3 separate regions of the Homo sapiens genome follow, and regions 1 and 3 are each linked to region 2. Evidence: promoter capture Hi-C in human tissues and cell types (Jung and others, 2019). All regions are on one chromosome and are shown on one strand. Each heading gives the region's core, a stretch centred on a gene start or on the middle of the fragment in contact. The rest is flanking DNA. Distances are from core to core; before and after follow the strand shown.

What was found. Contacts are between HindIII fragments. The study calls those that stand out against the background at their distance.
Region 1: a fragment that was not itself captured here is called in contact with the fragment with the promoter of SLC8A2 in region 2 in 1 of the 25 tissues and cell types used here (psoas muscle).
Region 3: the fragment with the promoter of SPACA4 here is called in contact with the fragment with the promoter of SLC8A2 in region 2 in 1 of the 25 tissues and cell types used here (dorsolateral prefrontal cortex).

Annotation. Positions count from the first base shown.
Region 1 is chr19:46,399,377-46,402,305 of GRCh38, reverse strand. The region is part of intron 1 of PPP5C-AS1 (PPP5C antisense RNA 1); the gene reads left to right. Among named protein-coding and RNA genes, the nearest start is that of PPP5C-AS1, 3.4 kb to the left of the region's middle. The HindIII fragment of the contact is 5,392 bases long and covers 1-2,929 here.
Region 2 is chr19:47,470,583-47,473,282 of GRCh38, reverse strand. It overlaps SLC8A2 (solute carrier family 8 member A2), which reads left to right and starts at 1,390. Exons shown (of 10, transcript NM_015063.3): 1 at 1,390-1,494. The HindIII fragment of the contact is 16,110 bases long and covers 1-2,700 here.
Region 3 is chr19:48,605,487-48,608,186 of GRCh38, reverse strand. SPACA4 (sperm acrosome associated 4) reads right to left here and starts at 1,445. Exons shown (of 1, transcript NM_133498.3): 1 at 473-1,445. The coding sequence starts at 1,208. The coding sequence ends at 834. All of the region lies in intron 5 of FAM83E (family with sequence similarity 83 member E), which reads left to right. The HindIII fragment of the contact is 21,490 bases long and covers 1-2,700 here.

The sequences.
Region 1 (2,929 bases), core at 373-2,872, 1.1 Mb after region 2:
TTTCTTTTCCTTTGCTTTTATTTTCTTTTTTCTTATTCCTTCATTTCCTTCCTTTCCCTTCCTTCCTTCCTTCCTCCCTCCCTCCCTTCCTTCCTTCCTTCCTCCCTTCCTCCCTTCCTTTCTTGACGGAGTCTCGCTCTGTCGCCCAGGCTGGAGTGCAGTGGCACAATCTCAGCTCACTGCAACCTCCGCCTTCTGGTTTCAAGTGATTCTCCTACCTCAGCCTCCTGAGTAGCTGGGATTACAGGCTCCCGCCACCTCACCCAGCTAATTTTTTGTATTTTTAGTAGAGACGAGGTTTCACCATGTTGGCCAGGCTGGTCTCGAACTCCTGACCTCGTGATCTGCGTGCCTCGGCCTCCCAAAGTGCTGCGATTACAGGCGTGAGCCAACTTATTAGTATCTCTGTCCTCGGGATCCCACTTCAGAATCGCCCAGGACTCAGATGTGGAATGGACACTTTAGTGGCCTGCAGATGGCAGCAGGGGGGGTTCACTATTTGTAACACAAAAAGGGATTTAAATAGTGCCTGCAGGGTCCAGTCTCCCAATTTAAACTTTGGCATTTGTGGTTTCAAACTCACAGAATCTGAACGGTTGCCCCAAAAGACCGATGTCTTGATTCCAAATCAGCCTCTATCTGACAGGCCCAGCTGCCACCCGCTGCCACAAAAAAACAAGTTCAGGGGAACAGTTTGGTTTTTTGTTTGTTTGTTTTTGAGAAGGAGTCTCGCTTTGTCACCCAGGCTGGAGGGCAGTGAAGCGATCTCGGTTCACTGCAACCTTTGCCTCCCGGGCTCAAGCGATTCTTCTGCCCTCGGCCTCCCTAATGGCTGGGATTACAGGCTCCTGCCACCACACCTGGCTAATTTTTGTATTTTTAGTAGAGACGGGGTTTCACCATGTTGGCCTGGCTGGTCTTGAACTCCTGATCTCAAGTGATCCACCTGCCTTGGCCTCCCAAAGTGCTGGGATTACAGGGGTGAGCCACCGCCCCCAGCCTCACTCTTTACTACGGGCAGATTCGTCATAGCCTTGGGGGTTGAACTCTGTAATTCTCACAGCAGCCCAGGGATGCAGCTTCTATTATTATCATCCCCATTATATAGATGAGGAACCTGTGGCTTAAGGAATTGAGGGACCTCTCCAGGGTCACAAGGCATGGTGGAGACAGAGGCAGGGGCCTTAGCCAGGGCAGGACACAGAGGCAGAGGCCTCAAATGGCAGGATGAAGAAATGGAATGCCTTCCTATGAGAAGGAGGGAAGTAATGGAAGGGAAGGGAGAATAAGGGCCTATTTATCAATGAGGATAGGTCAGGCTTTACGTTTGCATCCAAGCTTCAGGGGAACCTTGAAGTCTTGGAGTTCTTTTTTCTTTTTTTTTTTTTTTTTTTGAGACGGAGTCTCGCTCTGTCACCAGGTTGGAGTGCAGTGGTGCAATCTCAGCTCACTGCAACCTCCAGCTCCCTGGTTCCAGTGATTCTCTTGCCTCAGCCTCCGAGTAGCTGAGATTACAGGCACGTGTCACCATGCCCGGCTAATTTTTGTATTTTTAGTAGAGACGGGGTTTCACCATATTGGCCAGGGTGGTCTTGATCTCCTGACCTCGTGATCCACCCACCTCGGCCTCCCAAAGTGCTGGGATTACAGGCGTGAGCCACTGCGCCTGGCTGGACGTTTTTACTTTAAGAAGTCCCTGAAGGATGCAGACTAGGGGGCTATTAGAAAGAACAGTTGCCCAGGCGCAGTGGCTCATGCCTATAATTCCAGCACTTTGGGAGGCTGAGGCAGGAGGATGGCTTGAGCTCAGGAGTGAGAAAAGACTGGGCAACATGGTGAAACCCTGTCTCTACAAAAAATTAGTCGGGCGTGGTGGCATGTGTTCCCAGCTATTCAGGAGGCTGAGGTGGGAGGAGATAGCTTGAGCCCAGGAGATGGAGGCTGCAGTTAGCTGAGATCGTGCTACTGCACTCCAACCCGAGTGACAGAGCAAGACCCTGTCTCAAAAAAAAAAAAAAAAAAAAAAAAGAAAAAAGAAAAAAAAGAAGGAAGGCAAGAGAAAGAAAGAAAGATCCTTACAGGCCTGCCTAGAAAAAAATGTCCAGATAATAATAAGGAAAAAAATGATAGAAATACATATGTAGAATGAGTCCATTTTGGTTAAATAAATAAATTTATAAAACTAACATTTATCGCCTGCTAAGACATGCCAGGGATTGTCTGAATGTTTTTGTTCGTTTGTTTTTGAGAGGGAGTCTCGCTCTGTCGCCCAGGCTGGAGTGCAGTGGCACGATCTCGGCTCACTGCAAGCTCCGCCTCCCGGGTTCACGCCATTCTCCTGCCTCAGCCTCCCGAGTAGCTGGGACTACAGGCGCCCGCCACCACGCCCGGCCTGTCTGAATGTTTTCTATGGGCTTTGTCACTAATCCCACAACTGTTAACTATTCCCGTTTTACAGGCGCAGAGGTCGCACAATGCCCAAGGATGGCAAAGTGAGGTGGCAAACCTAGGTCTTCTGACTCCAGAGCCCAGGCTCTCAACCCCTGTGCCCTGGTGCAGGTGGCTCTGGACTTGCTTGGTGCACCAGACCTTAGTAATTCAGTCATTTTTTCCATAGCGCCCCCAAAGAAATACCTAACAGTTCCATTCTCATCTGGTGAGGTCTAAACAACCTAAGCTCTTATGTCCTAAGAAGTTAGTAGCCATTTGAAAATATGTAGAGCTAAGGAGTTTGAGATCAGCCTGGGCAACATAGCGAGACCTTGTCTTTATTAACATAAAAAATGAAAATATATAGACACATAAATTGAAAGAAAACAATTTTTTTTTTACTTCATTCTTAACCGTATTTCCTTACTAAGGGGAACGTGTGTGCTTGTTAGGCACTGCACCAGTTCTCAAAACCCTGGGAACAGACTGAACACCGCCA
Region 2 (2,700 bases), core at 141-2,640:
CTCCTGCCTCAGCCTCCCAAGTAGCTGGGATTACAGGCGTGTGCCACCTGGCCTGGCTAATTTTTGTATTTTTAGAAGAGACAGGGTTTCGCCATGTTGGCCAGGCTGGTCTCCAACTCCTGACGTCAAGTGATCTGCTCGCCTCAGCCTCCTAAAGTGCTGGGATTACAGGCGTGAGCCACCGCACCCAGCCTGCAAGTCTCTTCTTGACCTGACCCGTCCTCAGCCTGGGGAATTGTGCGGTGCAGCAGTTAAGGGTGTAGAATCTGGAGCCATATTTACCACCTCATGCCTTGGTTTCCCTGTCTGTAAGTGAAGCTCATAATAGCATTTACCTAAATTTATAAAAAACATTAGAACATGCCAGGTGCGGTGGCTCTCACCTGTGCGGTGGCTCTCACCTGTAATCTCAGCGCTTTGGGAGGCCGAGGCAGAAGGATTGCTTAAGCCCGGGAGTTGGAGACTAGCCTAGGTAAAATAGTGAGACCCCGTCTCTTAAAAAAAATGAAGAGAAAAAAAGCCTGGCGTGGTGGTGGTGGGCACCTGTAGTCCCAGCTACTCGGGAGGCCAAGGCAGAAGGATCGCTTGAGCCCAGGAGTTGGAGACCAGCCTGGGTAACATGGTGAGATCCCATCTCCTAAAAAAAAAAAATGGAGGGAAAAAGCCTGGCGTGGTGGTGGCGGGCACCTGTAGTCCCAGCTACTCAGGAGGCTGAGGCAGGAGGATTGCTTGAGCCCAGGAGGTTGAGGCTGCAGTAAGCCAAGATCGTGCCACTGCACTCCAGCCTGGGTGACAGAGTGAGACCCTGTCTCAAATAATAATAATGTGCTGCCGATGCCAGGCACGTGGTCAGGGCTGCCTGTATGTATGGCAGCTGTTGTTATTCTTATTAATGGGTGTCTTTGTGGTTGTTTCTGGCCTCCTTTGTGAGGCTGTGCAGGCACAGTATGTGAATTTGGATCTGACTCCAGCTAAACATTCTTGCCCTCCCCCTAGTTCTGTAAGTCTGTAACTATTTGTAGCTGTTGGCCCTTGTATGGCTGGGAGACTGCGTGCGTGTGTGTGTGTGCGTGTGTGTGTGTGTGTGTTGGGGGGCGGGGGCTGCTTCTGAAACACACAGGAGCGCCCTCCGGTGCTGTCCCCTGCCTCTGGTGCTGAACCCGGAGGCTGGGGAGGAGGCTCGGGCTCCCTGCTCCCCCAGGCCCCTCCCCGGGCCTCCCCCCGCCTCCCGCACCGCCTTCCCTCTGCCCGCCTCCGCCTCCTCCCCCTCTCTCCGGCTCCTCCCCCTCCCTCGCTCCCTCGCCGCCTCCCCCTCCCCCGTGTCCCTCCCCTCTCCTCTTCTCCTCCCTCTATCCCCTCTCCCTCCCCTCCTCCCCGGCTCTCCCTCTCAGTCTCAGGCTTTTCTCTCTCTCAATCTCTCTCTCTCTTTCGGGCGGAGTCGCCCACCACTGCCAGCCCAGCGCTGGGGGGACCTGCTCCAGGCTGTAGCCGCAGGTAAGAGACCCCATTGGTGGGGAGGTGGGGGCGTGGGAAAAGGACGGGGTTACCCCAGGTGCGGAGTGGGGGCGGTTCGGGAAGCCTGGAGCTGGCTTCCCTGGGCTGGTTTATGGAGGTGGGGGGCTGCCTGGCCCAGCACGCGTACCTTCTGTGGGGTGGGAGTGCCACCAGCCGCCCCAACACCTTCAGTCCCTCCTGGTTCTCGGGCGGCTGGGGAGGGGGACCGCCTGGGTACTGGGGGGCGAGGACACCCCGCCCCCACCCCGTCTGGGGCACCCCCCCTCGCGCTCTCTACCTCTGCCCCCGCCTTCCTGTGTCTGGGTCTCATCTTTCTGTCTCTCCACATGTCTCAGGGGTCTCTGTCTAGCAGAGTCTGGCCGCCTCTGGGAGTCCCTGTCTCTCAGTCTCTCACTCCTGTCTCCCTCTCTCTGTGTCTCTGTGCCGGGGTCTGTTCGGAGTCTCTCTGGGGCTCTGTCTCTAAGTCCTGGGTTTCTCTCTCCTTTCCTCTTGCGCCATCTCTGTTTCTCTGTGTCTCTGTGTCTCTGCCTCTCTCCCTTGTCTCAGCTTTCCTGTGTCTCTCTCTGTCTCTGCTTTCTCTGTGTCTCTGTCTCTTCCCATGTCCGCATGTCTCTCTCTCTCTCTCTCTCTCTCCCTCCCTCCCCATCTCCCCCTCGTCTCCATCTCTGTCTCTGGATATCTCAGTCTCTGTTTCTCTCTCTCTTTCCTCTTCTCTGGCTCTCCCTGGGAGCCAGTGCACCCTCCTCCCACACACCTTTGTCTCCGCCCCTGGCAGGGGGGACCTGGAGGAATTAGACCCCCCCACCCGCAGAGTGGGCTCCCCCAGGCCTGGAGTCCTCTAAACTCCTCTCCCCACTTCAGCAGAGCTCCCCTGCTCTCTCCACTCCTCCCAGCCGGCACCCACCCCAGCTCTCCCCTGAGGACCGAGCCCACCTCCCCCTGCCTTGTTTCTGGCGTTCTGAGGCCGGTCCTTCTTGCAGTTTAACCGGTAGCCTCTGTAGTAGAGATGAGACCAGACCTCCCTTCAATCTAACCTCCCCAGTCTTCCTCGTGTAACTGGACCAGTCCTTCCTGCCGTCTCACTTCCATACCTCTTGCTGTTTGTCCAGCTCTTGATTCATTCATTCTTGTTGATAATTACTGAGCGCCTTTCCTGCTCTGGGCAAGCACTAGGTACTGAGTTAG
Region 3 (2,700 bases), core at 196-2,695, 1.1 Mb before region 2:
AATGAGCCAAGATTGCACCACTGCACTCCAGCCTGGGCAGCAGAGCAAAACCCTGTTTCAAAAAGAAAAAGAGAGAACAATACACAGCTTTTGGACCCCACTGCCATTCATCGTGCCTGGAACAGGACCTGAGAATCTGCATTTTCAGGAAGTTCCCACTTGCTGCTGCTGCTGTTTCTGGTCCAGGGACCACACTTTGAGAATGATTGGAGTTGAGACCAGGATGTTTGAAATGTTTGAAAGAGTGTTTACCTTCCCAGCTTGGTGTGAGGATTCAGTGGCACGTAACGTAAGACAGGCTTGGCCAGGTGCCGTGGCTCATACCTGTAATCCCAGCACTTTGGGAGGCTGAGGTGGGAGGATCACTTGAGCCCAAGAATCCGAGACCACCCTGGGCAACATAGCTGGACCTTATCTCTACAAAAAGAAAAAAAAAAAAAGGAAAAGAAAAAGAAAAGAAAACAAAGAATGCTCCATGAACATCAGCTGTCATTTATTATGATATATATATATTTTTTACCATATTTCATGGACTCTAAAGTGCTACCAATGGAGAGAAGCATCCTGATTGAGATGTGAGAAGCTCTGCGTCTTAGAACCAGTGGAACAGAGTAATACAATCAAACCCACGGGCCGTGCTCCCCTGCCGCTCAGTCAGGCCTGGGGATGCTTCCCCTAGCACCGGGCTCCTGGTGGACAGCCTTAGAAGGGATGAAGCCAGGGCCGCAAGAGGTTGTCCAGGGCCTCTCTGGCCATTTAGTGGGGGAAGGACATGGGGACATGGGGAGTGGCGGATCTGGGAGAACAGTCCCAGGCCCTGTCCTCCCTGTTGGTCACAGCAAACGTGGAGGAAGCAGCATACCCAGCCCCAGTGCCAGGCTGGTGGTGGCCCCCACTGTCTGGCTGCTCGGGGCTCTGTTACACAGGCGGCCGGTGCAGCAGTTGGTGGTGAGGCTGTAGGTGACGCCCCTGTAGCTGACGGGTTCCTCAAGGCCGCAGCTGGTGGCTCGCAGGCAGCCTTTGTTGATGACCGGACCAGTGCCCGGGGCGACCCCGTGGCCTGTGAAGCAGTCCTCGTCATCGCCACAGTGCATGTAGGTACCAGGACACTGCATGGAGTCGGTGAGCTCACAGAAGACGCAGTCCTTGACGCCCGTCGTGCCTGGGGGCAGAGCCATCACCAGAAGCAGCAGCCAGCACAGGACCATGGCGGCCTGGCGGCGTTGACCCTGCCCCAGCCAGGCCGTGGGCTTCCCAGACCTCCCGGAACCGCTGAATGAAGGACCTCTGAGGACTCCTCTTGCCCACGGGACTTTGGCCCTGGTCCTGGCCTCCCAGGGTCAGCGCCTGGAGTGTCCTCTGTTCCCAACGCCCTGCGTCCCTCTAAGTCCTGGGGATGGAGGTGAGCGGGTGGCTGCTGCCCAACAAGAGTCTGTGAATGGAATGAGTGATCTCACAGATCCCTCAGGGTTCCCACTGGCCGCTCTGGGGATGAGGTCATAGGTGAGAGGAGTGGGTGTCACAATCCAAGGGGTGGCCTGCCCCGCCGACCTGCCGGGGCGCAAGAGGGCTCTGCCATCCCTGCCAAGGTGAAGACGCCCTGAACCCAGAGGACGCTGGCCACAAGCTTGTCCGCATTCTCTGTGCTGTACACCCGCCAAGGGCTTGACTTCAGCCTCACACCTCCCATAGTGACCCCATATTCCAGATGGGTAAACTAAGGCTGGGGAAAGTGATGTATCCAGGGTCCCCGAGCCAGGATGAGAGCCAGGTTCATTGAATTCCAAAGAGGCTGGGAAAGAAGAGGGTGTATTAACTGAGCACTTGCTGTGTGCCAGGATTCATGCTCAGTGCTTGCTTGCTTTTATTTTTTTGAGACGGAGTCTCTCACTCTGTCACCCAGGCTGGAGTGCAGTGGCGTGATCTCAGCTCACTGCAGCTTCTGCTTCCCAGCTTCAAGCGATTCTCGTAACTCAGCCTCCCGAGTGGCTGGGACTGCAGGCGCATGCAACCACATCTGGCTAATTTTTGTATTTTTAGTAGAGACAGGGTTTCACCATGTAGGCCAGGCTGGTTGCGAACTCTTGAGCTCAAGTGATCTGCCCGCCTCGACCTCCCAAAGTGCTGGGATTACAGACGTGAGCCACCACACCACGCCTGGCACTTGGTGCTTTCAATAACAACTACTGTGATGACAGGAAGTGTTAGGGCACCGGCCCCCACAGCTCACAGGCTCTCAGGGCCAGCTACGTGCAGGGGGCTTGATTCAAATTCAGTCATTTGAATATTCCTATGTTGTATTTATTTCTTAATTTTATTTTTTATTTTAAAAAATTGGCCGGGCGCAGTGGCTCACGCCTGTAATCCCAGCACTTTGGGAGGCCGAGGCGGGTGGATCACCTGAGCTCAGGAGTTCAAGACCAGCATGGCCAACGTGGTAAAACCCCATCTCTACTAAAAATACAAAAATTTGCTGGGCATGGTGGTGTGCACCTGTAATCCCAGCTACTTGGGAGGCTTGAACCTGGGAGGTGGAGGTTGCAGTGAGCCAATATTGTGCCACTGCACTTGAGCCTAGGCAATAGAGCAAGACTCCATCTCAAAAAAAAAAAAAAATAGGATCTTGCTCTGTTGCCTAGACTGGAGTGCAGTGGCGCGATCTTGGCTCACTGCAGCCTCAACTTCCCAGGCTCAAGTGAT